2 separate regions of the Homo sapiens genome follow, and region 1 is linked to region 2. Evidence: promoter capture Hi-C in 16 types of primary human blood cells and fetal thymus (Javierre and others, 2016). All regions are on one chromosome and are shown on one strand. The core of a region is centred on a gene start or on the middle of the fragment in contact, and the rest is flanking DNA. Distances in the headings are between cores, read along the strand shown. Region 1 holds the start of DYNLT1 (dynein light chain Tctex-type 1). Region 2 holds the start of GINM1 (glycosylated integral membrane protein 1).

Region 1 (5,907 bases), core at 3,028-5,527, 9.1 Mb before region 2:
GGAAGAGGGACCCAAGAAGCTCAGAGCAGCCACTGTTTCATGGGGTACAGAGGTATTTCAGCACAACTGTGCCTCCGCTTCCCAGCTCAATAGCAGATCTAAATATAGGCACTTCTTAGCTAATCTCTTTAGCTTTTCTCAGCACAGGACTCTCACTTTAGATATGTGTCAGCCAGAGTTTCTTTTCCTTTACAACATTAAATTCCTCAGCCATGAGTGTTTCAACAGCACCCTCGTCCTCATCGTCTTCTTCTGTTACTATTATTTTGACTCAGCATGATCTCATAGTAACACACTTCTTGGCACAGGGGAAGAAAGGAAAAAATGGAAAATCCACAGGATGGCATTTGGACTATGAAGGGCTGCAGATTATAGCAGAACAACACTGCTGGATATTATTATTATTATTATTTTTTTTTTTTTTTTTTTGAGACCGAGTCTCGCTCTTTCACCCAGTCGGGACTGCAGTGGCGCGATCTCGGCTCACTGCAAGCTCCGCCTCCCGGGTTCACGCTATTCTCCTGCCTCAGCCTCCCGAGTAGCTGGGACTACAGGCGCCCACCACCGCACCCAGCTAATTTTTTGTATTTTTAGTAGATACAGGGTTTCACCGTGTTAGCCAGGATGGTCTCGATCTCCTGACCTCGTGATCCGCCCGCCTCGGCCTCCCAAAGTGCTGGGATTACAGGCGTGAGCCACCACGCCTGGCCTATTATTTTATTTTTTGAGACGGAGTTTCGCTCTTGTTACCCGGGCTGGAGTGCAATGGCGCTATCTCAGCTCACCGCAATCTCTGCCTCCTGGGTTCAAGCGATTCTCCTGCCTCAGCCTCCCAAGTAGCTGGGATTACAAGCATGCACCACCATGCCTGGCTAATTTTGTATTTTTAGTAGAGATAGGGTTTCTCCATGTTGGTCAGGCTAGTCTCGAACTCCCGACCTCTGGTGATCTGCCCACCTCAGCCTCCCAAAGTACTGGGATTACAGGTGTGAGCCACTGCGCCCAGCCACTGCTGGATATTATTGATGTTATTTATTGATGTGACAGTTCATTGATTGCTATGATTATTAGGCCCACACTTGCTAAATAAAGGTATTGGCAGCTCCAGTCCCACAGTCTGTATTCAAGAAATTTGACTCCAGAAAAGAAAGGTGATTGCACGCAAACCTGCCAACCTATCACTAACCTCCAAATTGAAAAACAAACCTAAGATTCACTCCACTGACTTACTGCATAGAAACTAAACATTATTCTAAAATATGGCAGAATGCCAAAGATTCATGAGCAGTTACGAGTAAAGGTGTCTGAGCTCCAATGCTTCTGATGGACATCCATTCGTGGCAGATGGAAGGTGCTGGAAATGGCATCTGGTGAACTGCCAAATGTCTTAACGATTTTAAATTCCTTAGCCCTACAGACTACATCAGTTGGGCAGAATATAATACCACATCACTGCATTTTTCCAAGCACTACAACATCACATAAGCCTAGAGAATTCAAACCCTCCTATTTACAGATATATCCGTTTAAAAGAAAAAATTCCATAAAGGCCATGTTTTAGTCAACTTTGTAGCCTCAACCCCCAGCTCAGAGCCTGACACAAAGGGAGTGCTCCATATATGTGTATTGAACAAGTGAACAGATAGTTGTGAAGATAAACAGACCAGCTCATCCGTTTACTGGCAGCCTCAAAATGTCATACATCGCGATCATTTAACAAATGTTCTTTAATAGTTAAAATTGGAGAGTGGTACCCAATGTATAAAAGCTAAAATCATGTAAGCATTTTTAAAATGCACATTTGCATGTTTTCTGTTGATTTATGTGCATGCTGGTGATCCGCAGTTATAACAAGATCCATGCATTAATTATGCACCATCCTAGCAGACATTCAGGAAATTGATTTAAATTAGGAAGTTCCTAAAAGGTTGTGGGGAAAATTGAAAAGGCTGTCCCAAGTGTCATGTTCTTCCATTGCAGGTGTTTGCTCAGAACCGGTTTACTCTTGCTTTGCACATAATTCTGTGACACTTAGCTACTGAACTCCAGGTCCACAACAAAGTAGCAGAAGAAAAAAGATTTCAGAGGCTCCTGATTGGCTCAGGATCGTGGTGGGGCCAAGAGCTTGGAACCAGGTAGGCAGAGAACATCCAAAACGAGATCTCAGGTGATACTGAGAAGGGCAGGCAGGCAAAGCAATGTCAGCATCAGAATCACATGTGGACTGAGGCGCACGACTGAAACACCAGGACAGGGGAGTTGAAGCCAGGTAATAAGAAAGGAATTCAAAAGGTAGATAAAGTTCAGAATCCAAGGAGAGGAAGACCAGGTGTGGTAAAGCAACCAGCCTGCCCAGCAAGTCTCCTCGCTCAGGCCGAACACCCAGGGCCAAGCAGCCTTGTGTCAGTCAGGGCTCTGCCCTCCTCTCGCCAGCCCTGTTTCCCTCAAGGAGGCAGGTAGTTGCATCTTCCTCCACTCCCCAGTTCTCTCCATTTGGGTCTGAGGCAAAGCTAACACCCATGAGGGAAATGATTCATGCAATAAATTTTAGGCCGGGCATGGTGGCTCACAGCTATAATCCCAGCACTTTGGGAGGCTGAGGCTGGAGGATCCCTTAAGCCCGGGAGTTTGAGACCTGCCTGGGCAACACAGTGAGATCCCATCTCTACAAAAGACATATTAAAAAAATAGGTGGGTGTGGTGGCTAGTGCCTGGAATCCCAGCTGCTCAGGAGGCTAAGGCAGGAGAATACCTTGAGCCCAGGAGTTCAAGCTCTTAGTGGTCTTTGGATGACTAAACTTCAACACATCTTAGCTCAAAATCTCCGATCACACCACTGCATTCCAGCCCGGGCAACAGAATGACACCCTGTCTCTAAATAAATAAATAAATAAATGTTAATTGTGTAGCTATTATGTGCCAGGCACAATGTGGAAGGAAGGGGATACATTAGTGAATAAAACAGATCCTTCCTGCATGGTACTTAGTTTCTAAATGGAGACACACCATCAACAAGCAACCATAAATACGTTCTTGCAAACTGAGAGAAGTGCTATGAGGAAAATGTACAGGATGCAGGGGTGGAGGATGAGGAGGTCGGCTACCTTAGATGCCGTGGTCACAGAATGGCTCTCTGTAGGAGATTTTGAGCTAAGATATGTTAAAAGTTTAGTCATCCAAAGATCACTAAGATTAGTCTATAGTCTGACAACTTAGTAACTATTGACTTATGGCAGGGCAGAATGGGTGAGGGGAGGGAGGAGTCGTTGGGTTAGGTTCCTCTTGAAGGGCTCTAATAAGACCCTGATAGACCGACCAGGTTACAGTCCGATGGTCATAATCCAGATGAGAGATATCAATCTTTAACTGGGGTCCCGAGCATATGGGGTAGAAATAACAAGGGTTGTTGATGGATTAGATGTGGGATTTGAAGTTTAGGTCTACCAAATCCCTGGGACCCTTGCAGTCAGCTCTTTCTTGGGGAATGGGAAGTGGGTTCCAGCAACCTGAATTCAAGTGCATGACGAAACCAGAAAAAGCAAACGCCAAAATCAAAACTCGGAGCCTCAGAATACCTGCCAATAGATGCATATGCCCCAGCTTTCCGTGGAGGGCAGTTTACCAGAGCCCAGTGCAATTCCTAATTTCCATAAAGAACCCACATACAAATAAAGTCTGTCTAGTTCACTATGGTTAAGGTAGTCAGGAAGTGTGCCACATTTTACAAAATTTTCCACCCAAAATGTTTTTTTTTAATGGTGCTTAAAGGAAAAATTCTCATTTACCTGGAAAACTTAACTCCCCAAAGGGAAGTTTCGTTCAGATAGCTAAAGCATGCCAATCCCAGTCCCCAAGGGAACTGCAACAACGTCTCACCGGGCGCACTGCCTTCAGCAGTCACTTTCGAGTTTGTTGCCAGGTGTCCGAGCGGGTTTGAACGTCCGCGTCAATCCACACAGTACAAACCGGAGGAGGGGCCGGGACCACGCTTCCCCTCCAGGACTGCCTTTTGTACGTGTGTTTTGTTTCTGTTGCTAAGGTTTAGGGAGCTGCCCGGCTACCCTCACGGATTCCCATGGAAACTACCACCTCCCAGAGGACAGGAGGAGAGGCGAATTCAGGGTCCACCCACGGGCCCCGCCCAGGGATGGGGTCACTGAGGGTCCGGGCAGCGAAGGGCGGGGCCCGGGAGCTGGGCATGGGCGAGGCAGGCGCGAGAGGAGAGGGGCGTGGCAGGTCCGGGGCGGGGCCTGAGTGCGCCTGCGCAGTCCGCGCCACTCAGGGAGCCGGAGGGGACGCGCCGGAGGAAAGATGGAAGACTACCAGGCTGCGGAGGAGGTAACCGCCGGGTCGGCGACGGAAGGGTGGAGGCCTAGAGCCCTGGCCGCGGAAGGACACGCGGTCCTGCCCGGAAAGGCCTGGCTGCCCACCTCCTTCAGCTAGGCCAGTCTCGGCAGCCCACGGCCTGAGCTTCCCGGTCGCCGGCGCTCCGCCCGGCCCCATTCTGCCCGGACATTGCCGCCGTTTCCCCGGCGCGGGGGGCGGGAAGGGGATTGAGCTTCTTCCCGCGCGGGGAGGCACCGGGCGTGACTCGGAGAGAGCGCCCCGGTGAGCGGTGCCGAGAAACCTTCCCGCAGGGCCTCGCCTCCGGCCCGCAGCCAAGCTCGCCGAGAGGATGACATCACCGCCCCTTGCTCTGCGGGGCTGACCCCAGCCCCAGCCCCAGCCTGGAGCGGGGCGCGGCGGCCGGGCTGGGAGCGCCGAGGCTTGGACGTCTCCCCGCGGAGGTGCGGGTGACGCTCCCGCCGCCAGCCCCTCCGCCCCGGGCTGGCGTCCCGGCCATCCCGCGCCTTTGTCTCGGGCCTCACCTGGTTCTGCAACGCTGGGAATGAGTAGCACATTTCATTTCCGTTTAATATGTCTGTAAGAAAGCTCATTGTTGTGGGGAAAAAATCATCTTTTATGCCTCCTTGAGGAAGTAGGATAAAGCCCACGATGTCGCCAAGCAGAAGACACCCATCGGCACCGTGTGCGTTAAATGGCTTTCCTTCAAGCTCACGGTCATTCGGGGAATAGAGCTGATGGGCGCAGCTGAGATACAACACTCATTTTCTTCTTACTGAATAATCCTTGTTGAAATTCAGATAGAGCCCTATGGATTTATTATGCAGCCTGTCAAAAATATAAACTATAGATACATTTGGTAAGGTTGGATATCTTACCATTTATGAAATTTAGTGGCTGGGCGCAGTGGCTCACGCCTGTAATCCCAGCACTTTGGGAGGCCTAGGCGGGCGGATCACCTGAGGTCAGGAGTTCGAGAGCAGCCTGACCAACATGGAGAAACCCCGTCTCTTTTAAAAATACAAAATTAGCCGGGCGTGGTGGCGCATGCCTGTAATCCCAGCTATTCGGGAGGCCGAGGCAGGAGAATCCCTTGAACCTGGGAGGCAGAGGTTGCCGTGAGCCAAGATCGCGCCATTGCACTCCAGCCTGGGCAACAAGAGCGAAACTCCGTCTCAAAAACCAAAAAAAAAGAAAAAAATTTCGTTTAAGGAGGAATGTTTTCAGGGAAAATAAAACTAAAACTTAAGGACTGATTCTAGAGTTTCAGTTTTGATCTGATTTCCTAACTAGCACACACTTCCTGTGACAGTGGCATAATCAGTGTTTGAATGCTGATGGCAACCAAGTGAATAATGACGAGAAGAGCTGGTTCAGGAGCAGTTGGCAAAGAAAAAAGCCTTTCCCCTTAAACTGTTACTAATATAATATTGGAAAATGTCTTGTATTACAGTAATATCGAGTAAAACTTCTAAAAAAGAAATCGCTTTGTAAAGGAAAGCGCTTAATACTGCAGTCCGATTCTGACTCCCACAAATAAGGTGGCTAAGTGGCTTCATTATT
Region 2 (6,549 bases), core at 1-2,500:
CCCTCACCCAGGCTGGAATGCAGTGGCACGATCTCGGCTCACTGCAACCTCTGCCTCCCGGGTTCAAGCAATTCTCCTGTCTCCGCCTCCCGAGTAGCTGGGACTACAGGCACCTGCAACCACGCCCAGCTAATTTTTCTATTTTTAGTAGAGACGGGGTTTCACCTTGTTGGTCAAAGTGACACTTACCGTGCCCTTCGCCTTTGTATTTAGAGTGTTCATATTCAAGTCTTGACTAGGAAGAGGTGTACCGACATAGTTTCTTGTCATTCTCAGAACACTTGCTCTTTAAAATATTCAAACTTTTCCCTACCATTCTACTGAAAAAAGGCTGATACTGGCCTAGGTAGGCACGACTCTACGGCAGGAATGGTGAGCATCAGCCACGTTTTAATGTTAGGATGCCTCGATTCTCCCACCTCAGCTGGCATCAGAAGCACCTGCAGGACTCTCCAACCCGGACTGCTGGGCCCCGCCCCCAGAGGCCGGGCTGAGTCCCCAGGGGATGCGGACACCGCCGATCGCGCCCCGCCGTGAGAACTTCTCCTCCAACATCCGACAAAAACATTACGTCGCGCGAGGGCCAGGTCTCTCCCTCTGCCCACCTGAGCCCGGCGGAGCCCCGCAGCCTCGGAACGGCGGACCCTCGCGATCGCAGGCCGAGCAGGCACAAGTGGCCTGGAAATGCGCGAAGTGGGCAACTTCCACACTTCCCGAGCACACAAACATTCCTTGCCCAAGCGCTGGCTCTACCCCGGGAAGGCGCCATTACGAAGGCCTGATCACCGGCAACCGCGCGCTTCGACGGCAAAGCCCCGTCAGGTCGCGCGCCGGCTTGGGCCGCCGGAGAGTCGGTGTGGAGTGGCTCGAGGCTCACTCACAGCGACGCAGCCCCAGTGGGTCCCTTTCCTCTTACCTCGGCCTCCCACGCCGCCCCCATTTCCTGGGGTGCTTCTCCCCACACCTCCTTCGGGGGCCCGGACCCCCGCCCCTGCCCGCCGGTGGGATGTGGGAAGCGTCACTGTGGACAGCCCGGGCCTCCCGGAGAGTCGGAGTCGTAAAGCGGCCAGCCAGGCCCGCCCTGCCCTACCTGTGGGGCTCCGGACAGCGGCGGCGGCTCGGGGGCGCCCGTCGTCAGCCAGCCGGAGGCGGGTAGCGCCACGAACAGCAGGAGCCGGAGGGCGAGCGACCCCGGTGGAGCGCCCTCCATCTTGGACAACCCGGGCAGAGGGCAGCCGCGGCCGGGAGGTGAGGGCGGAGCCGGCCCGCGGGCGGGACGGAGCTTCGGCGGGAGGGACGGGGAGGGGCGGGGAGAGACGGGGAGGGGCGGGACGGGCCCTCCCCTCCCCGGGCGGCCGCGGAGAGGCGCGGGGACGCTCCGAGATCCGGCTCGCCAGGGAAAGGCGTTTGCGCACGCGCAGCGCCGCGCGGCGTCGAGGGGCGGAGTGAAATCTTGGAAGGTACGGCCCCTCATTAGACCCGCCCTCAGGATTGGACAGGACTCCAACTGGAGCGATGTAAATGTCCTCGTAACCATTATTTTTAAAATTAGTATTTACACACATGCATGTGTCTGTGTGTGCACATGTACATGTACCTATACGATGAAAACAACGGTAATATTTCAGAAAACTGTTATACATTAAAAATGAAACATCGCATTTACAGGGGAAGTTTTTATTAAGTGGGTAATTCCCCACCCTTGGCTGCACGTGGGACTCTCCCGGGCAGCTTTAAAAAGTACTGGGGTCTTCCTGAACACCCCACTTTCCAGCCTGGGCTGCGGCTCGGGCCCTGGTGGTTTTTTAATTTTCTCGGGTGATTCATTGTGGGGCCAAGGTTGAGGATGCGCCATGCTTACTGTTCAGCATTCTGCCGACCCCTGGAGGCGGCGCGGGGACAGCGCTCAGCTGGAAGGAAGCCAGCGCACCTGGGCTGTCAGTGCCTTTTTGGTCAGTATCGTAACTCTAAAGTGAAAGTGTTAGACTTTTCTTCCACCTTGCAGATTTAAAAAAAAAAAAAAGTTACGGAACCCTGTAAAGCAGAGTAGCAAGAAATTCAAGCATTTTAGATTAACAGGATTGCATGTTGATTGAGAAAAACTTGGAAACTTGGCCATTCAGGCAGAATAAGAGTAATATTTAGTCTTCCTTTGAAATAAAACTTTTGACATGAAATAAAACTTTTGACATGAAAAAGGAAACAAGAATCTATTTCTCTCTTTGAGCCCCCTTTACTCCTTTGAACACCCTCCTCCCACAGGCCTGCTGACCGCCACCGCCCCCTCCCCCGGCCCCGCCCCAGAATAAATTATAAACGTTTTGGCTAAAGACTCCTTTCAACTAACTCCGGGCTTACTCTGAGATTCCCCACGCCATTGTTAAGCTACAAGTGATTTCACAGCGAAGCCCCACACACTTCTGGGTTCCATCTGCAAACTTGGCCTTTTCCTTTTTTTCCTACTGCTGGAATTAAAAATGAATTTGGAGATGGGCGTGGTCATTTGTGCCTGTACTCCCAGCTATGCAGCAAACGCAGGCAGGAGGATCGCCTGAGTCTATTAAAAAAAAAAAAAAAAAAAGGAATCTAGAAGCCGGGTGCAGTGGCTCACGCCTGTAATCCCAACACTTTAGGAGGCCGAGGCGGGTGGATCACTTGAGGTCAGGAGTTCGAGAATAGCCTGGCCAACATGGTGAAACCCCATCTCTACTAAAAATACAAAAATTATCCAGGCATACTGGCACGCACCTGTAATTCCAGCTACTAGGGAGGCTGAGGCAGGAGAATCGCTTGAACCCAGGAGGCGAAGGTTGCAGTGAGCCAAGATCGCGCCATTGCACTCCAGCCTGCGCGGTGGAGCGAGACTCCGTCTCCAAAAAAAAAAAAAAGAATCTGGAAGTCAGAAAACATGACATGTGGATCTGTATAATTTGAATTAGTAATATAAGGTTACAAAGTACGTCTATATGAAAAGATAATAGGTAAAGTTGAGGCTCTCTGTTTTCTTACAAAGCCTTTCCCATGGTCTAACTGTCCATTATTCTTTATTGTTTATCTGTCTCGTCAGATAGATGTGAGCTCCAGGAAGAGGGTGGCCAAACCTTAAAGCAAACAGCTTGCTAGAGTAAGCCCTCAGTGGGGGTTTGTTGGACAAATAATGTCTAAGTGGTTGACAGTATTATTTAATAATCAAAAATTTTACTGTTTTGTATGAAATGGTTCTCTTTAGGCCATTGTTTTGCTACATGCACCCATGAGCGCTACGGAATTTCATTTAAAAAACCCCATCATTTGGGGAAAAAGCACCATACCACAACTCTAATGAGTTACAACAAAACTTTAAACAAGCTTTGTGGCTGAGTTCCACTTGTCCATTGGAAAACTCAGCTTGGTTTACTGAGCCTTCACATTAATCTGAGAAACAAAAGACAGAATTAACTTGGCAGTTGCTTACACGACAAATAAATCTGTCAATGTTAATACGGTGAGTACTTTGATGTTCCTTTGAGTCAGCTCATGTCAACTTGATATCCTCTATCATAAAAAGAGTTCAAGTTGCCTGACAGCAACCCACTGCGGTTCTGTGCACATTAGATGCTTTCTCTTCTTTGAAGGTAATCTTTCATATAGGAGAAGATATTCTAAAATATTTCTAATACTACAGAAAACAAAGTATATATTAAAATGTCTTTATTCTTTCACCAGATAATACCTTTTGATTCCAAACCTTGATATATTTCCTTTTTCAGTAGCCGATTTCATTGTCATTTTCATCATTCCCACAATCAAAATTTGAGTCCATCTTTTTCTGCAATTTAAAGCAGGCTTGATGCCAAAAGGAAATCTGGGACCTGATTTGTATCTGTTTCCAGTTTCTGGGAGTGAGTGAGTCACTGCACTTCTATTACAACACAGTCTACTCCAGTATTTTCCAGAGTTAGTCATCTACATATTTTTGAACTTTTTGAAAGACCCCTAGAAGATGACAAGAGGGAGAGCAAGAAACAAAGATATTATATTTTATTTTTTTGAGACAGGGTCTTGCTTTGACACCCAGGCTGGAGTGCCATGGCAAGATAGATCATGGCTCACTGCAGCCTTGACCTCCTGAGCTGAAGCCATCTTCCTACCTCAGACTCCTGAGTAGCTGGGACTGTAGGCACATGCCCCCATGCCCTGCTAATTTTTTTTTTTAAGTGAAGACGAGGGCTTGCTAGCTTGCCCAGGTTGGTCTTGAATTCCTGAGCTGAAGCAATCCTCCTGCCTCGGCCTTCCAAAATGTTGGGATTACAGGCATGAGCCACTTTTTTTTTTTTTTTTTTTTTTTGAGACAAGAGTTTCATTCTTGTCACCAAGGCTAGGGTGCAATGGCACAATCTCAGCTCACGCAACCTCCTCCTCCCAGGTTCAAGCGATTCTCCTGCCTCAACCTCCCAAGTAGCTGGGATAACAGGTGCCCACCACCACGCCCAGCTAATTTTTGTATTTTTAATAGAGACGGAGTTTCACCACGTTGGCCAGGCTGGTCTCAAACTCCTGAACTCAGGTGATCCACCTGCCTCGGCCTCCCAAAGTGCTGGGATTACAGTCATGAGCCACTGTGCCTGGCCTAAAATATTTTAAAACTGCTTTTGCTGTAACTTTCTTGTCCATATATTTATGAATGAATTTAATTAGCTCATAATGATGGGTGATGCCTCTCATATGAAGAACAACTCATAGAAATATTATCATTGTAGTAGCCAGCATTTATTATGCTAATTGTGTTAAGTGCTTTATGTATATTATTTAAACCTTATAACAGCCTAATGACATGATTACAATTTATTATCCCATTTTTATATACAAAACAGAAATTTATAGAAATTAAGTGTTTTTCTCTGAGTTACAGAACAGTAAATGATGAAGCTGTGGTTTTAAACTCTGGCATTCTAAGCCAACACAGTATAATGAAACAAAAGGCATTTAGTTAATTTATATACATTTATAGAGATGATTATAAATTATTCTACTCATTAGCTTTCTAAAAATATGAGCTGGGTTGCACTTTGGGAGGTGGAGGCAGGCGGATCACCTGAGGTCGGGAGTTCGAGGCCAGCCGGGAGTTCAAGAAACCCCGTCTCTATTAACAACACAAAAATTAGCTGGGCGTGGTGGCGCATGCCTGTAATCCCAGGTACTCAGGAGGCTGGGGCGGGAGAATTGCTTGAACCCGGGAGGCAGAGGTTGCGGTGAGCCGAGATCGCGCCATTGCACTCCAGCCTGGGCAACAAGAGTGAAACTTCGTCTTAAAAAAAAAAAAAAAAAATATATATATATATATATATATATATATATATATATATATATATATATATATATAAGCTGTGTTGGGAGAAATGGAGAAACAGTAAAGTGTAAGAGAGCTATGCCTTCTCCACCATCACAGGAGCTAGAGGGGCTCCAGGGCCAAGATGCAGACCCTGCTCTCTGCTCCCTCAGCTAACTAGTTTCAACAACCTGAAAATCTGCAGAGACGTTTGTACTCAAGGATGCTAAAAATCATACTATAATTTAATATTTGGTACCCTAATAAAAATCCTGAAGATAAAAGATTAAAGGGCCGGGCGCGGTGGCTCACCCCTGTAATCCCAGAACTTTGGGAGGCTGAGGCAGGCGGATCACGAGGTCAGGAGGTCGAGACCATGCTGGCTAACACGGTGAAACCCTGTCTTTACTAAAAATACAAAAAATTAGCCGGGCGTGGTGGCAGGCGCCTGTAGTCCCAGCTACTCGGGAGGCTGAGGCAGGAGAATGGCATGAACTCGGGAGGCAGAGCTTGCAGTGAGCCGAGATCTAGCCACTGTACTCCAGCCTGGGCGACACAGCGAGACTCCGCCTTGAAAAAAAAAAAAAAAAGATTAAAATAAGTATCCTAAGGAATAAGAAATCTTATCAGGTTTCAGGTTTTAAAAAATAGAACATCTGTAACAGATACTGCAAGAAGAGTTTGTTTAGAGATCATTTCATATTCAGTAACCCAGATAAGTAGGTTATATTTGTGGTAAGATGCCATTTTCATTTGTCTTATTTGACTTTTTTTTTTTTTTCTGAGATGGAGTCTTGCTCTGTCACCCAGGCTGGAGTGCAGTGGCACGATCTCAGCGCACTGCAACCTCCAACTCCCGGGTTCAAGCAATTCTCCTGCCTCAGCCTCCCGACTAGCTGGGATTACAGGTGCCTGCCACCACACCTGGCTAATTTTTGTATTTTTAGTAGAGACGGGGTTTCACCATGTTGGCCAGGCTGGTCTTGAACTCCTGACCATGTCATGATCCACCTGCCTCAGCCTCCCAAAGTGCTGGGATTACAGGTGTGAGCCACCGTGCCCAGCCTTATTTGACTTTTTAAATCACCTTTAGAAATGAAAGAAGCCTCCACTTGGAAGCAGAAGCAGAGTGTAGGGTGTCTTTCCTCTGCCTTCAGTGGATTTCCCTCTTGGGAGTGGATTTTCTTCTTTTAAGTCAGGATTCACTTTATTTAATTCACTAGAATATAAAAGCCTCACTT

The links. Contacts are between HindIII fragments. The CHiCAGO score rates a contact against its expected background, and 5 or more counts as called.
Region 1: the fragment with the promoter of DYNLT1 here is called in contact with the fragment with the promoter of GINM1 in region 2 in 1 of 17 cell types (neutrophils); the score reaches 6.1 in neutrophils.

Annotation. Positions count from the first base shown.
Region 1 is chr6:158,643,113-158,649,019 of GRCh38, reverse strand. DYNLT1 (dynein light chain Tctex-type 1) reads left to right here and starts at 4,277. Exons shown (of 5, transcript NM_006519.4): 1 at 4,277-4,338. The coding sequence starts at 4,312. It also overlaps a transcript of SYTL3 not described here. RefSeq lists silencers at 4,120-4,349, 4,510-4,839 and an enhancer at 3,963-4,906. The HindIII fragment of the contact is 7,871 bases long and covers 1-5,907 here.
Region 2 is chr6:149,561,076-149,567,624 of GRCh38, reverse strand. GINM1 (glycosylated integral membrane protein 1) reads right to left here and starts at 1,250. Exons shown (of 8, transcript NM_138785.5): 1 at 1,091-1,250. The coding sequence starts at 1,210. RefSeq lists enhancers at 654-703, 1,954-2,083 and a silencer at 974-1,523. The HindIII fragment of the contact is 6,228 bases long and covers 1-3,350 here.